Linked DNA regions of Homo sapiens: region 2 is linked to region 1. Evidence: promoter capture Hi-C in 16 types of primary human blood cells and fetal thymus (Javierre and others, 2016). All regions are on one chromosome and are shown on one strand. The core of a region is centred on a gene start or on the middle of the fragment in contact, and the rest is flanking DNA. Distances in the headings are between cores, read along the strand shown. Region 1 holds the start of KCNK9 (potassium two pore domain channel subfamily K member 9). Region 2 overlaps TRAPPC9 (trafficking protein particle complex subunit 9).

Region 1 (7,878 bases), core at 2,876-5,375:
GTCCTCCCTTACTCACTGTGGGACCAGGATAAACTGCTGGGCCTCTCTGGGTAAGAACAGGGGCTGCAGGCACACCCACTGTGTGTAAAGAATGAAGCAAACAAGTAGGCAGCAAGCAGATAGAGTTATAAAACCATGATGTTCTTTATTAGCTAATAAGGTACATCTGTTTTTACAGAAACTGAGGTCCAAGGGAGGCCCATGTTGGGGCTGCTGGAGGGCGCAGACAGGCTGTAAACACAGCGCATGGGCACCAGGAGCACCGGACAGGCTTGGGACCAACTGACTGTGGCTTAAGCCCACAAGAGAATGCACTTGCTCACCCCAGTTGGGTGGCTCGCGTGTGCGCCACGTGCCTGCATTGGGGTTCTCAAAGAGTCGGGAAGGACCCGCCTCCCTCCTCAGGTCACCTATCTGCTGACAGCCCTACCCAGAGGAGGGCTCTGATTGGTTGAGGTGGGCCTTCACACGTCCAAATCCAGCCAATCACCGTGGCTCTGGGGAATTCTGGACTCTGATTGGCCACACCTCAGTTCCACACGCTTCTCGAGGTGGGGCTAGAGTTGGGACACCCAGACCCACCCGGGCTGCCAGGGAGGCAGGCACGCAGAGGCGCTGCCCCCAGCCAGACTCTCTGGGCTGCTGTGTGGCACACACCATCCGGGATGGATGCTGGGGATGTAGGGAGGATGCTTGATTGAGCCCCAGGCTTTGCTCCCAGGAGCTCCCATTCCACCCGCAGGTCCAGCGCCTTGGAAAGTGGCACATGTGGGGTGTGGACGGGCGGACGAGGAACCCTCTGCTTCCACGGCTCAGACACTGCCTGGGAGGTCCTGAGTCCACGGGTCTATTCCCACGGGTGGAAGAGAGGAAGAACCAGGGTCTGGGGGCTGGTAGGTGGCCACTCAAGGCACTCTAAGCTTGGGGCCAGAAAGCAGCGGGGGTCCTTAAGCCACGGAGAGGCTTCCAGGGCTGGCTCCACATCGGAATCACTGTGGGATCCTGGGCACGTGATCCTGTCTTGCTGGAAGTTTTCCCATCTGTAAAACAAGGGGTTTGGAGTAATTCATCTCAGAGGTCCTTCCAGTACTCATACAGCGGTTGCGCTTTCCTGAAAGGCTGTATGCAAATGGAGTTCCGTAAACCAAATCGAAGTGGCTCTGCAGAGCGCGGCGTCTGCCGGCGCGCCCCTCCCCCGCCCGCGCTGCCGCGGGGACAGCCTGGACTTCCCCGCAGCGAGGCCGGCTGCGCGGCCGCCGCGTGGGTCGGAGTCCAGTGCCCCCTGGTGGCGCCGAGGCGGGCAGGCGGCTTCCGGACCGCGCGGAGGCCCGACGGCTGTGACTCAGGGGTGGCGCCGCTGCCAGGGCGGCGGGAGGCCTGACTGGGGTTCCGTCGTGGGCTGAGCCACGGCGCAATTAATTACCAGCTGCTGGGAATCCTTGTCGCCCGCTCGCGGTGACTCACCCGGCAGCCAGGCTCACTTGCCGAGCGCGGGGGCCTTGGTTTCCAAAATGAATCTGGGGAGAGTGCCTGCTCGGGGTAGGGCTCCCCGCTCCCTCGCCCCAGGGCGCCCGCAGACCCAGCGAGGACCTGACGGCTCAGACGTAGCCCACAGCGCGGGCTCCCCTTCCCTGGTGGGCACCCGTGATCCCTGAAAGTGGGGTGCAGAGCGTCCCAGCTGGGAGGCCTCGGTGAATCACTGGGGTCCCAGACCCTCTGGGCCCGGGGTCCCTGAGGCCAGGGAGCCCGAGCACCGCTCCAGGGGGCGACCCACAGAAGGGACTGGTCTCCTGGAGCCCGCGAGCTGCCCGAGGGTTAGGTCTGATTCCCCAGCCACCCCTTGGCCAGCTGCTAGCCTGCCGCCAGGCAACTCTTTCCCATCTCCATCCCTTCCTTGGCTGGGGTCAGGAGAGGAAGAGGAGCCCAGGGGTCTCTGAGGCTTGGGTCTGTCCTTTTGGAGCTCCAGGGCTCCAGGCGGGATTCAGGAAGCCGAAGGTCAAGGAAAAGCCCCTCGATAGCCTAAAGGGAGAGGGCGGGGAGGGGGAGGAGGTAAAGGAGGCCAAAATGGGAAGGAGATAAAGCCTGGAGAGGGCTCATCTGGAAGCAGGGAATAGGTGCGCCCCAGCCCGAGCCTCGTGTTCCTACCCCAGGTGGTCTCGAGGGGGCTATCGCGTGGCTCAGGGCTGCATCCACGGCGCACCTTGCGCCCAGCTGTGGGGAACCAAAGAGTGATTATATATATCAAAGAGTGATTATATATATATATATATATATATATATGTGTGTGTGTGTGTGTGTGTGTGTGTGTGTGTGTGTGTGTGTGTATTTTTTTTTTTTCCTTCAGTAAAGCAACAGAGAGGTTACTGGGTCGGGGGATTGCGATGTCTTTCCCCGCTGTCCTGACTCCAAAAGTGGCGGCCCATGCTGTCCTTAGCGCTCTCCAGGGAAACGACTCGGGTCTGCAGGTGCTGGCCCAAGCGGGCTGTGCCGCTGGGAGGCGAGGGGGCCGAGGCAGCCCTCGGGACCCCACCACTCCACGAGGCCATGTCCCTGGCCAATGACACGCTCCCGCGCCGGGTGGCTAGGTGGGGGGTGGGGGGTGGGGAAGACTTCGTGAACCGCTGCTGCCGCTCTCCTGTGTGCCCATGGCCCCCTCCCCTTCTGCTCCCCACTCTCTGCCCAATCTGCCTGAAGCTGTCAGCCTGCCATCTCTGGCTGAATCCCGTTTTCCTCCTCCAACCCCGAGTCCCTCAAACTCTCCACCCGCCAGGGCTGCTTGCGCTCTTGGGGAGCGGGGCTAGAAGGACCCAAGAAGCCGCGTTTATCCTCCCATCCCCCGCCAAAACCCGCCGGCGGCTCCGCCCCCGCCCCCTCCCTGGCGGCTCAGGCCGCCCCTCCCGGGCTCCCTCCGCGTGCGCCCTGCGCCGCGCTGGGTCTGCAGCGGGAGCTGCCACAGCAGCCTCGCCAGCTGGCTGGGGACCAGGCGGGAGGTGGCGCGCCCTGGAGGCTGCGGGAGGGAGGGAGGGAGGGAGGCCCGGCCTCGGCGTAGCCCGGCCCCCGCTCCCCGAGGCCCTCCCGCCGGAGCGGGGCTGCCAAGCGCACACACACACACACACACACACGCACATACACACGCGCACACACACATTCGGGCTCCCAACGGCGCGCACGCACGTAGCGCCCGGGGCAGACCAGCGCGGCGGCCGCCTCCCGGGACGCCCGGACGCCGGAGGGCCCCGACCCCCGCGCGGCTCATGCGCCCGCGTCCGCCCCGCTGCTCCGCGAGGCCCGCGGGACCCCTCCCGCCGCCGCCGCCGCGCCCGCCGCCCCCGGAGGAGCGGGCTGGCCGACCGCCACCGCGCCGTCCCCCGGCCGCCCCCGAAGCCGCTCCATCGCGGTCCCTGCCGTCCTGGGGCCGCGCCCCGCTCCCGCGCCTTGGGGGTTGAGCCGAGCAAACTTCGCGCACCGGCCGACGCCCGGCGGGGACCCCGCTGCGCACCCGCGCGCCCGGGTGGGCGCTGGGCGCGCGGACCTTTGGGGAGCGGGCTGCCCCTCCCGCTGCACCTGCTCGGCCCCCTCCCCGCTTGCAGGGGACTCCAGAGACACCGCCACTTCGCAAACTTTTCCTCCCCACCACCGAGAGGGGGCGAGGAGGGGTAAAAGGGGAAGCAGGTTCCGCTGGGCGCGCGGACCTGCAGGCTCCTTGCTGGGCACCGCCACCCGCGAGCTGGACCCACAGGGGTACCGGGCCCCGCGGCCGCCCTCCGGCCGCTTTCTGGCTCCGGTTCCCGTCCCTGCGTTTCCCGCGGGAGCGGGGGGCGGGGTGCGGAGGGCAGCAAGGCCCGCGCGGTACCCAGCGGGGCCGCCCTGCATGGCCCTGCGCAGTGGGGCGGGCTGCTTCGGCCGGGTCTGGCGCAGGGTGTCGGGGTTCCCGGACGCCTGGCCCCGGCGCTCGAGCAGCCTCCTGTGCCTGTCCGCCTTCTCGGCTGAGCCCGGGCCCGCGCCGCCCCTGCCCCGCCAGCCGCCTCGCGGTGGCGGTGGCTGTGGCGGCCCCAGCGGAGGGGGCCCCCCCCAGCCTCCCCGCCCCCCGCCTCCCCGCTGCTGCTGCTGCTGCTGCCGCCGCCGCTTACAACTTGGAGGCGGCGGCGGCGGCGGCGGAGGAGGAGGCGGCGGCGGCCGCCGGGCGCTGCAGTGGGACGCGCGCGGCTGTGAGCCTGCGGGACATGCCCCCCGCGCCGGCTCCTTGCTGGCGGCCATGAAGAGGCAGAACGTGCGGACTCTGTCCCTCATCGTCTGCACCTTCACCTACCTGCTGGTGGGCGCCGCCGTGTTCGACGCCCTCGAGTCGGACCACGAGATGCGCGAGGAGGAGAAACTCAAAGCCGAGGAGATCCGGATCAAGGGGAAGTACAACATCAGCAGCGAGGACTACCGGCAGCTGGAGCTGGTGATCCTGCAGTCGGAACCGCACCGCGCCGGCGTCCAGTGGAAATTCGCCGGCTCCTTCTACTTTGCGATCACGGTCATCACCACCATAGGTAAGGGCTGGGCGCGCCGCTGGGCTCCCGCGCCCCGGGAGGAGTCCGGGGAGGCGGCTGAGCGCGCCGCGCCGGGCTGGGTGCAGGGCGTCGAGGGTTAAACGCAGCCTCCCTTGGGGGCCTTCCCGCAGCGCCCCCTCCTCTCTAGGGAGCCCCCCCTCCGCGGCGCCTCCGAGCCTCACCCTTCGGGGACCCCACCCGGTGCTCTCCACCGCGCTGGTGTCTGGGCCGGGCGTGCGAGCCCCGAGCGAGTGTGCCTGAGCCGGGAGGGCGGAGGCGCCACTTTTGCGAAGAGAGTGGAGCGCTAAGAATAATCCCATAGCAGACACCCACCCACCCACCGCCCCGGCGCGGGCTGGGCTGCGCGGGGCTCTGAGCCTTACACTTACTACCTCTCTGGGAGTTGGAGAGGGCTGGCCTGGCACCCATGGCTCCTAGAGGGACTCAGGTGGCAGGGGAGTGCGCCTGGGGCGTGAGAGGCACTGACCCTCCGTAGCCCCTGGGCCCCGCTCCAGGCTTCTCTGAGCTCAGATTTCATCTCTCTTCCCCCCGCCCGGCTCCTTTTTTCCCCTGAGTTCCAGTTCTGGAGCTTGGACTTCCCAGGCCCCTGGGAGGAGAGAGTTTGCTCTCTGGTGCTTGCGTTGGGGGTGGCAGCCCCTCAATTGCTCTCAGTAGAGGTGGAGAGTGGGGGCAGGGCAGAACCTGCCCACTCCCTAGGCTGTGACACTGGGAAAGGCCAGTCTAGACATTGCCCAGAAACCAGGGAACTTGAGCCCCAGTCACGAGAGGGGGTCCAGCTGGTAAACTGCAGGGATGCCCGCCAGCCCCACTGCCAAGGGCGCTATTCACAGAGCAGGGTCTCTGGTCGGTCCCGAGGGCAGTGTCCCCTCTAAGGCTGGGGGCTGGGAGGACTCCCGGACGTTATACTTGGAGACCTGTGGGAGCTGGGGCAGGTACCTTCATTCGGGTGGACGTGGTGGATACCCTGCATGGCAGGAGGCAGGGTGGTGTCTCTGTGGTTCACTTGCCCCAGTGAGGCAGGCTGCCTCTCTAGGGCCATCTCCTTGGACTTGCCAAGGCCAGTGTGTTAGTGGGGGTGGTCTGTTTCCTGCACCCCTCAGGGCTTCACACCCCTGTGCCCTGGGCAGGGACCTCCTCCTTCCCCCCTCCCTTCTTCCCAGCTCCTCCTGTCTCGCTTCTCTGGACCTCCTCCTCTAATTTCCCTCTTGATATTTTTCTTTGTCTGGAAATCTCTGCATACTGAAAAAAAAAGGATTTCTCAGTGCCATATGCAACAGGAAGCGCCAGCACAGGACGGCCTGTCTTTCCTTCTTGGTTGAAAATACTTTTTAGAGAGTCATCTTGTTTTAAATGTTTAATTCATTGGTGCAGGTTTTTCTGTTTGTGAAGGAAATTGTCCTTCTGTTATCTACATAATCAGCTTGGCTCTTGCTTGCCCCACGCCCTTTGCCCAGCACCCCAAACACAGATGACTCCTTCCCTTCCCACACTGTGTTTCCAGCTTCTGAGAGGGCCAGTCATTGCCATTTTCTCTGGCTTTAAACTGTGGCAGTGGCACGCAGATGCACAGGGCAGTGATTCTGGGAGACAGGGGCCTGTTTGCTGGAGAGCTGGAGAGTAAGAAATATGCCTCTGAAACTGGCCACCCCTGGGGAAAGGAGAAAGCCCCAAGGCCCTTAAACATGCCTTTAGGGTTGAAGATGGAAGACAGGTGAATTTGGCTAGCATGCTGGCTTCCAGTAGTAAAACAGGCACATAAAATGCTTGGCTGATCCCGAGAGTTGAGCGACAACATCGAGGAGAGGATTGGTGTTAAAAGCAAACTCTGAAATGTGCCAGTTTTCCTTAAGAAATGCATTGTGGAGACTGATGAAGTTCTTACTGAGGTGTGTTTCCATGGTTGATTCTGATTGGTAGCTCTGGGTGTATGCCTGTAACGGTTAAAACTCCAAAGAGAAGCTGTCAAGGGAAGTGTAGCTAAATGGAGGGTGTCGGCTTCGCCTCAGGGGCTGTGGGACTTGTATGAATAAGGGACCAGAGGCCATCTGAGGAATTCGCTGATTTTCCTCGCTTCCTTCTTTGGGCTTTCCACTGATTTTCTGGAAAGAAAGGTTGGGAAAAAAATGTGTGTGTGTGTGTGTGTGCGCGCGTGTGTGTGTGTGTGTGTGCGCGCGCGCGCGTGTGTGTGTGTGTGTGTGTGTGTATGTGTATGTGAATAAAAGACAGCTCTAACACTAACACAGCTGTCCTGTTGTGGAAAGATGTTCAACTTGGAACCCACAGACCTGGCTTGGAATCTGAATTCGGCCATAGTGTAAAGACCAGAGAGAGGTCATTTCCCAACTCCTGACCTCAGTTTCCCCACCTGCAGAAGAGATGTCTCACAATAACTACCTGACAGGCTGACTTTTAAGGTCCAGCTGAGATCCCGCGGGCTGCAGCTGCCAGGCACAGTGTGGCCGGCACTTAGTAGGAACGGAATCCACGCTCTTGGACGAAGCCTGATCGAGCCTCCGCTCTCTGCCCTAAGAAGCTGTTTAGCACAAGAGTTCAAATTTACAGGAAACAAAGCACCTTTCCAGTTAATTCTGTTTGTTTTTTTTTCTTTTTTTAATATAAATGCAAATTAAGATGCTCCTAGGCCTAGAACAAAACCCGGCCCCAAGCCTCGCCCTCCAAGGATTTGTCTCCTATTGGGCAGTGATATTAATGAGTCAGGTTAATCTTCATTGGCGTTTTGATTTTTAATCTAACCTTGAGCTATTTCTTGAGCATGCTTTAACTTTTTGCCCAAATCTCCAAGGCTGGGACAGGAGCCGCTGGTGCTGGGCGGCCACGAATGAAGGCTTCTTCTCAGATGCAGCTATTAGCTTGCCCTGTGAAATGGATTTTTAAAACGTATGTAATTACCACTTTGCGTTGAATCTGTGGCCGAGCCTTCCTAAAAGGCTTTGGAGGGATATTACCCTGAGTCTCACCCCAGCTCTCTGGGGATCCCGGGGCACAGTGACCATTGTCATAACCAGGGAAGAACGGGAGTCCAGCTGGGCCCCGCAAAGGGCAAATTCAGTTACATCATTTATCAGGCTCTGTTTCCATTCCTCCCCATTTGCTTCCTTTGATGTCTGTGCCACTTGTAGCTATTTCTGCGGAGATTATGTTTAGTTCTAAACTTGTGAAGTGCTAGACCTTTGCATGGGAGACCCTCGTAGGTACCCTGTAGTTTCCTTTTGATTAGGGGTTCAGTCTGAGTTTCCCCCCAACCCCCGCCCCACCACCTGTTGGTGGAAGTGGTGAAAGTCAGGAGTGCTGGGCCAGG
Region 2 (7,878 bases), core at 3,945-6,444, 520 kb before region 1:
AAGAAAAAGAAAACATACGGAATTGACTAAAGCACAATGTTCGATGTATCTGCTTGCCTACTGCTTTCTGTGTTTCCCATTCTTTTCTACATCTTTGACCTTCCTTCTGAAATTATTTTCTATGTACCTGAAATATAATATTTAGAAGTCCCTAGTGAGAACGTGTTGGTGGTAGGTTCTCTTAGTTTTTAGCCAAAAAATGTGTTTGTCACCGTCATTCTTAAAAAAAAGTTCTGCATATACCTAAGTCTAGTGTAGCAGATGAATTTTCTTTCATATTTTGAAGATGAATTCTTATGACTTCCCTTGCTGCTGGGAGGTTAGCTTCTGGTCTAATCGTTATTCATTTGGATATAATCTCTCTTTTCTCTTTATCTTCCCCCCTACCCTCAAAGTGTGTTGTACTGTAACACAGTTGTACTACCCTTTTAGTTTTTAAAAAATATTTGTTGTGATAGAATTCACGTGAGGCACAATTCAGTCACTTTTAGTGTATCCACAGGGTTGTGCAATCGTCCCCACAGTCTAAGTTTAGAACAAGCTGGGAACCACCCAGAACATTTCACGTGTTCAGCTGGTAGTTACAGCCTCCTGTACATGGAGGCTTCTGATGTCAGTGAGGGCAGAGGACTTTACGTCTGGTCCCACTGCAGGGAGCATCCAACAGAAGGAAGACCAATCTCAAAGTGAGGCTGCCCATGGGGAATGTGGACTGTTGCCATTTGAATAGTATGTGAAGGCCACTATTCCTGTATGATTATTTTTTCTTTCCTAAGCATATTCCAAAGTTTCTGAATGAACGAGCATGCCGCTTTCTTTATGGAAATTAAGGATGAGTATTGGCTAATTTCTTAGCCAACTGCTTCTACTGCTTTGGTTTTCTTGAGGATATTTTATGATAACCAGATGGGCTTTTTTGGCACCTGTAGATTTTATGACTAAATGAGAAAGCATCTTTAAAATATATTCTACCTGGAACAGCATACCCTGACAAACTCCCACTGAGCGATTGTTGCCTCCTGTTGCCTTTGTTAATGTATTTTATTCTAGTTTATTTTTGGTGCCTCTCACAAGAGAGTAAAATGTATTCAACCTTATGCATTAGTGTCTCTTTTGAAAGTGTACCAAAATGGACACATCCCTGCATAGATCCCACCACTGGAGATAGATGCTAAGCCCCTGCAAGGGTCCTTGTGATCGGTTTAGTGGAACGCATGGTGTACAGTTTTGACCCAGTGATGTGCTACAGAACAACCTTGGCTGGTGAGCTTTTCTGGAAGCTCAGTGTGGGGACTGAAATGTATTCCTTGGGTCAGTTTTGCTGGGTAGTGACCAATCCAGTTGTCATGAGGCCTAGTTCTGGCTGTGCTTCTGATGAGCTGTGTGATATTGAGCAAGGTACTTACCTTCTCAGAGCCTCAGCTTCTTCATCTGTAGAATTGGTAAGAGAATGCCTGACTTTGCAGGGTGTGAAGAGTTGGATGGTGTGCACTGAGCGCCTGGTGCCAGGCCACGGACGTGGCCCTTGGCCCTCACCCCTTTCTAGAAGAGCTGTTTTTATTGTGACTCTGCTTTTTCTTTCCCCTGCACAAATTCTGCTTTCAGCTGTCATTTTCCCCAATTGTCATCATGGTTGGGATATGGCTGAATTCTAGAGAGAAGTATTATTTTAGCATACAAAATTGTCTTTCTGAATTTCCCACAGAGTTGCTCTTAATAGAAAAGTTGAGCACTATAAATGGGAAGTATGAAATTCTCTCTGAAAGCTCAGTTTTATTCATGATGATCTACCAGACTCATACCATTCTTAAATACCCTCTGTCCTGATAAATCCACTAAACTCTTTAGTCCTCCTACTAGGCCGCCTTCATCTGTTTGTAACTTTTTTTGTCCTGTCTTCCTATTAATTGTCATCCCAATCTGTTCTCTGTTCTATTTGTGATAGCCTGTGTTGGCAGAAAAATTGGCTAAATGATTGAACATAATTTTCTCCCCTCCACCCCACCCCAGCTGGAGAGAGATCCTTCCCAGGCGCGCCCAGTGATTTGCTTCCCTGCTCACGACATCTTATTCCATCTCATCTCTCGCCATCCCTCTGCAGCTGCCCCCTTCTCTCCAGCTCTGTTCCTGTATGGGCGAAGGGCTCAGCTTCAGTTTTCCGAAGGCTGGCTTCTGCCTCCTACCTGTCCCCATTTGTAATTTATATGCTTCTTGTGTTTTGTATCTTTAGTTGGATTTGAGAACAGACTTCTGTAGTCTATAAAGAATCCATGGAGTGGCTTTCTTAGTATTTTTCTGAGCTTGAAGATGACAGGTTTTGGGGGTTTCTTGGAGATTTTGAGGTCTGTGTCCAAAAAGGAGGCAAATTTCAGATGGAATTTTAAGACTTTTTTCTTTTTTTTTTTGCAAAGTGCTCATATCCCACAGCCTCCTAGTTCTAAAACATTGCTGATTTGTGTTTTTCTGAAGTACTTTTACATCAAATCTCATTGAGTTTTTTAGTTGGTTCCTGTTTTAGAGCCAAGAAAACTAAGGTTCATAGAGTTGTGTGTTGCCCAGGGTATCTCAATGTGTTGTGGAAGGAGGGTTGCAGGCAGGCCCCATACCTGGATCTTTTTCTTTTTTTTTTCCTTTTTCTTTTTCTTTCTTTTTTTTTTTTTTTGAGACCGAGTCTCTCCCTGTCACCCAGGCTGGAGTGCAGTGGTGTGATCTCAGCTTACTGCAACCTCTGCCTCTCAGGTTCAACCAGTTCTCCTGTCTTAGCCTCCCCAGTAGCTGGGACTATAGGCATGCACCACCACGCCCAGCTGTTTTTTGTATTTTTAGTAGAGATGGGGTTTCACCATGTTGCCCAGGCTGGTCTTAAACTCCTGACCTGAAGTGATCCGCCCACCTCAGCCTCCTAAAGTACTGAGATTACAGGTGTGAGCCACCACGCTGGCCCATAGCTGGATCTTTATAACGTGATTCAGAGGAAGACAAACCGGAGTCTTTTCTTCCTAGAATTTGTAAATCAAATCTCAAAGGAGGGCTTTTCATGTCCCTTCTCGTACCTTCTGTTTGTTCTCTGGATACACACTGTTGATGGGATGTTTTCATCTCTGGCCATGGCAGGATCAAGGCCAACCTTGATCCCACCAGAACCACATGGGATGAAGAAGGAGCTGCTCCCCAAAGAAACGAGAAATGCTGGGCAGACAAAAGCCAGATGTTCACTCTGCTTTCCTCTACAGGCCAAAACTTCTGACCATTTCCAGAAATGAAGAATTTACCATTGTTATAAGTGTAAAATAGGATTGGTATTTCCAAGGCAAAAACAAACAAACAAAAAGAATCTGGGTCCTTCAGGAGATAAAAGCGTTGGTGTAATTTGCGAAGGATGGGAGCCTTCCCTCGGGAGGAGCTGGCCAGGCTGTATTACGGGTCCTGTGTATATGTCAGAGAGAGGGGTGGAGATACAGAGAGACACACAGACACACACACAGATGAGATGGCAAAAATACCCCTTTGGGCACCTGGCCTTCACTCAACAGAGGACGGCTTACTGGGTGAAGTCACATTGAGTGGTCTTTCATACCATGCTTGCTTAGAGGTCCGCTTGACCTGGTTCCTGGGGTAACATGCTAGAGAAATGTGGAGTTTACGTTTTGCACATGGCTCTGTTCATAATACTAGTACCCTTCACAGCAGGCATTATGGTGTCGTGGAGAGATTTTATAAATTGTGTCCATGGTGCTGAGAGAAATGAGAAAAAAGAGAGAAAATAAACTCATTCAAACTTAACAGCTTTTGATTGAGTCTTTACAAATAAGTCTTCGCACATATCTACCTGATGAAATTTCAGTTAACCAGGAGTTGGTTGTTGAATGTGACTTTGGGATGATGGAATTTTTATTGAGCGTGTGTGTGTAAACTGTGTGCGTGTCAACTAAATACTGGATTTGACCCTGTAATTTATTCATTCATTTAGTTACTATTTACTGAGGGCTTACAATTTGTTAGAGCCTGCATCAGCTACTATGAGGGGCATAATGGTGAATCTGACAAGAATTCAGTCTTCAAGGAGTTTGTAGTCATGAAGGAATGTAAGACATGCATAATTTGCTGCAGTAGGAATAAGAACAGCTCTTTTTACTGAATGCTTGCCCCGTACCAGGCGTTGTGATAAATCCTTCCTATGCAATAATTCGTTTATTCTTCTGTATAACCTCACAGTATATGTGTTCTAATTATTCCCATTTAGGGGATGATGGATTTAAAGCTTGTAGAAGGTTATTTGACTTGATGAAGTTCATTCAGCCAGGTAGAAGGGGAGCCGCACCTCAGCCCCGACCCCTCTGATCTCCTACCGGGCTCTCTGCATGTATACAGATCAGCAGGAGGTAGGCACGGGTCTCAGGACAGAGAAGATGCTGGAACTCTGAGGAAGACGTACTTGCTTTCCATTAGGACAGCTAGGGGAGGCATTATGGAAGAGGTAGCATTTGAACTGAGACCAAAAATTGGGGCATATTAGGATATCAGATTGTCAGAGGGAAGAGAATTACCAATACATAAAGGTAAAAAAAAATGGGGGTAGAACAAGGAGTGACAAGGAATAAATTCTGGTAGAAAAATGGCCTACCAGTTGCAGGGACTGACATGGTTCAAAGCTGGGCCTTAGGCCCAGTGAGGGCTGCTTTATTTACGGTCTACCCTTTGCTTTGTGGCCCTACCTGAAGCTTCCCAGATTTGCTATCCACTCTCCATGGGGAACACTGAACACCACTGTTTTTCACATCGAGTCCTTTGAGTATGTCAAAGGTTCTGCTCAGATTCTGCTCAGATTCTCTTGGTGAACTCTTCTGAAATCTGCAGGCACCTCTAGGGGATGTTTGTCAGGCTCATGTCTCTGTCTTTCCCCCTCTGCTAGACAGTAGCCCTGTAGTTCTTGTTAGCTCTCTGATGCTTGCATGGATTTTAAGACTACTTTGTCCATGTTTTCTAGCTGTTCTCAGTGGCTGAGCTGGTCTGAGTTGTCTAGCTTGTTATGAGGAGTAGAATCTTCTGAAGTTCATTTCATGCCTATTCAGCCTGAGCTGCTTGTGGGACATCAGGTGGACCTTTGCTGCCCACATGCAGTGCTTGAAGAGGGGCCAGTTGGGCACCTCCATTTTCTTCTAAGTGCAGAGAGGACCCTGCTCTTAAGTGCTTGATCACAGTCTTCATACGTGTCTTCCATAGGCACCACCAACAGAAACAGATCAGTTTGTCATTTTTCTTATTGTAGATGCACAATGTCTGATTCCTTCATGTGCTATTTTGGGCATAAGGTGCCATGGACTTTTCAAGTAGACTATTTTTTAACGTAAGATAATTTAGCTTTTGAAGATTTGAAGCCTCTAAGTAGAAAATTGCTTAATTCTTCTTTACCCAGTTGAATATTGTTTGTCATCCTGAAAATTGAACTACTTAAGGGGACATACCTTAGCAAATGATGCTTAAGAGAAGTGTTTTTGTTTTTTTTTTTTTAAATTATGAACTATTTCTATTATGCTTGGTTAATTGCATATTTTTGCAAAGAGATATTAGGCATAGGGCCATGGGCCTAAGTTATTGCGAATTTGGAAATATACATTTTGTGTCAATTAAAAGTAAATACTCTTCATCTTATCACAAGAAGCTTTAGTTTCTTAATAAGAAGTTACTTAGATGGGTTCGTTTGAGATATGCAGCCATTGAAATTTTCTTTCCCAACAACTGTGTTAAAGCGAAAAGGATCCTAGGCTTAGAATCAAAAGCACCGAGTGTGAGTTTCAGACTTGCCACCCGTCTACCCATCCATCCATCCAATCAAGTTTACTAAACATCCATTCATGTGTGGTACGATGCCTAGGATCAATGACTGCCAGTATGACTGCGAGCAGGTTGTTTATTGCTGTTCTTTAAAATGGGGACAAGTTTCATTATCCTCAGCAAACTAACGCAGGAGCAGAAAACCAAACACCGCATGTTCTGTCTTACAAGTGGAAGCTGAACAATGAGAACACATGGACACAGGGAGGGGAACAACACACGCTGGGGCCTGTTGTGGGGTGGAGTGAGGGGAGGGAGAGCATTAGGAAAAATAGCTAATGCATGCTGGGTTTAATACGTGGGTGATGGGTTGATAGGTGCAGCAAACCACCATGGCACACGTTTACCTATGGAATAAACCTGCACATCCTGCACATGTACTCTGGAACTTAAAAAGAAAGAATAAATAAAACGAGGGCAAGTTTAGAAAGCATAAAGTGTCATACTGATGTGAGTCCACATCTTACCAACCTCACTTTCTACCATTTGCTCTTTTGTCTCTGCTGTTGCATGTATCTTAAGTCAAAATCAGTATGAACGTGATTTCTTGCACAAGTTGCCTCTGGTGGTTTGTTCTCTTGGCCTGGTTTACACTGGAAGTCTGTGATACTCGCCATACTCATAGGTAGACTTCTCCCGCATGCCAGCTGGGTTCTGTTAGGGAGCTGCAGCTACTTGAAGATAACTCCTCAGGAGGCAGTATCTTTACGTTCTTGAGAATATATAAAACTGCAGTCAAATATCTCATTCATTCCGCCAGGTCTTCTCTTCTGTTAAATGGTGTATCATGCAGAGGCCTTGGAGACCAGTGCAGACTTTGACATTTCCTCTTGAGTGCTAGGGGCAGGGTGTGAGCCCCCTTTCCTCAGGAGACTCTGCGAGCTGTGTGGGGAGTTGACTTAGGGAAAGGAGTGAAGGCAACGGGGGAGAAGAGCCAGGAGGAAAACTACAGTGACTCTGAGTTGGTGCGAACCACGAAAGCCATCCCTGGACATACTCTCAGAGCTAGCAGGATTTCCTTTTGGGTTGGACATGCGACGTGAGATGCAGAGAGGACTTAAAGATGATTCGTGGGTTAGACCCGTCAATCGATAGATACTGTTAACAAGTAAGAAAAAAACCCAGATGGCAGAGTGTGGCTCCTCGGAGGTTTAAGTAGGGTCTTGTGGCAGAGAGTGGTGGCTGCTTGAAGCTGGGTGAGGAGGTAGCACTTAGACTAAGGTCAAGCGGCAAGAGAGAGCTGGCTGCACGAAGGGAGGGGAACTCATTCCAGCCTGAGGAGCGGCTCAGCAGAGGCCCAGGAGAGAGATGGGCTCTGCGTGGTCCAAACGCAGAGGGAAGGCTGGGGCCTTGGTCATCACATCCAGGTGGTAAGGAGCTGTCCTTTTTAAGGACTGATGCACTCTCAGCTTTTACTCATAGTAGATGTGAATATGTGCTTATGGAGGACACATCAGGCAGCTGTAACTGATACAAGGTAGAATAGTCAGGACAGAAACTGGCATGCTCCTTACAGTCACAGTTTTTGAACAAAATCCCCTACATAAACAAAAACAAAAACAAAACCAGCCTGGGCAACGTGGTGAAACCCCACCTCTACCAAAAATACAAAAATTAGCCAGGTGTGGTGGCGCACGCCTTTAGTCCCAGGTACTAGGGAGGCTGAGGTGGGAGGATCACCAGAGCCCAGGAGGCAAAGGTTGCAGTGAGCAGAGATTGCACCACTGCACTCCAGCTTGTGCGACAGAGCGAGACCCGTCCCAAACAACAACAACAACAACAAACCCCAAAACCAAGCTGACGTGTTACTTATGATTTTTGTTCTTATTTTGTAGATGGAATCAGTGTGAGTGGCTTTCCCCTGTCCAGTCCTTTTCGGCAGGTCGTTCGGCCCCGAGTGGAGGGCAAACCTGTGAACCCACCCGAGAGCAACAAAGCAGGCGACTACAGCCACGTGAAGGTGAGTTGGTATGGCAGACGGCATCTGCCACGTGCCGTTCGGGCTTCTGCAAAGCCGTTTCTGAAGCACAGCTCTGAGTCCTT

The links. Contacts are between HindIII fragments. The CHiCAGO score rates a contact against its expected background, and 5 or more counts as called.
Region 2: a contact is called between a fragment that was not itself captured here and the fragment with the promoter of KCNK9 in region 1, in 3 of 17 cell types (M0 macrophages, M1 macrophages and non-activated CD4 T cells). The highest score is 5.7, in M0 macrophages.

The regions. Positions count from the first base shown.
Region 1 is chr8:139,699,370-139,707,247 of GRCh38, reverse strand. KCNK9 (potassium two pore domain channel subfamily K member 9) reads left to right here and starts at 4,125. Exons shown (of 2, transcript NM_001282534.2): 1 at 4,125-4,538. The coding sequence starts at 4,256. RefSeq lists silencers at 1,030-1,399, 4,108-4,402. The HindIII fragment of the contact is 15,596 bases long and covers 923-7,878 here.
Region 2 is chr8:140,221,376-140,229,253 of GRCh38, reverse strand. TRAPPC9 (trafficking protein particle complex subunit 9) reads left to right here. Exons shown (of 23, transcript NM_001160372.4): 17 at 7,671-7,795. It overlaps LOC124902029 (a long non-coding RNA gene), which reads right to left. Exons shown (of 2, transcript XR_007061118.1): 2 at 5,894-7,302. Among named protein-coding and RNA genes, the nearest start is that of PEG13, 120 kb to the right of the region's middle. The HindIII fragment of the contact is 941 bases long and covers 4,724-5,664 here.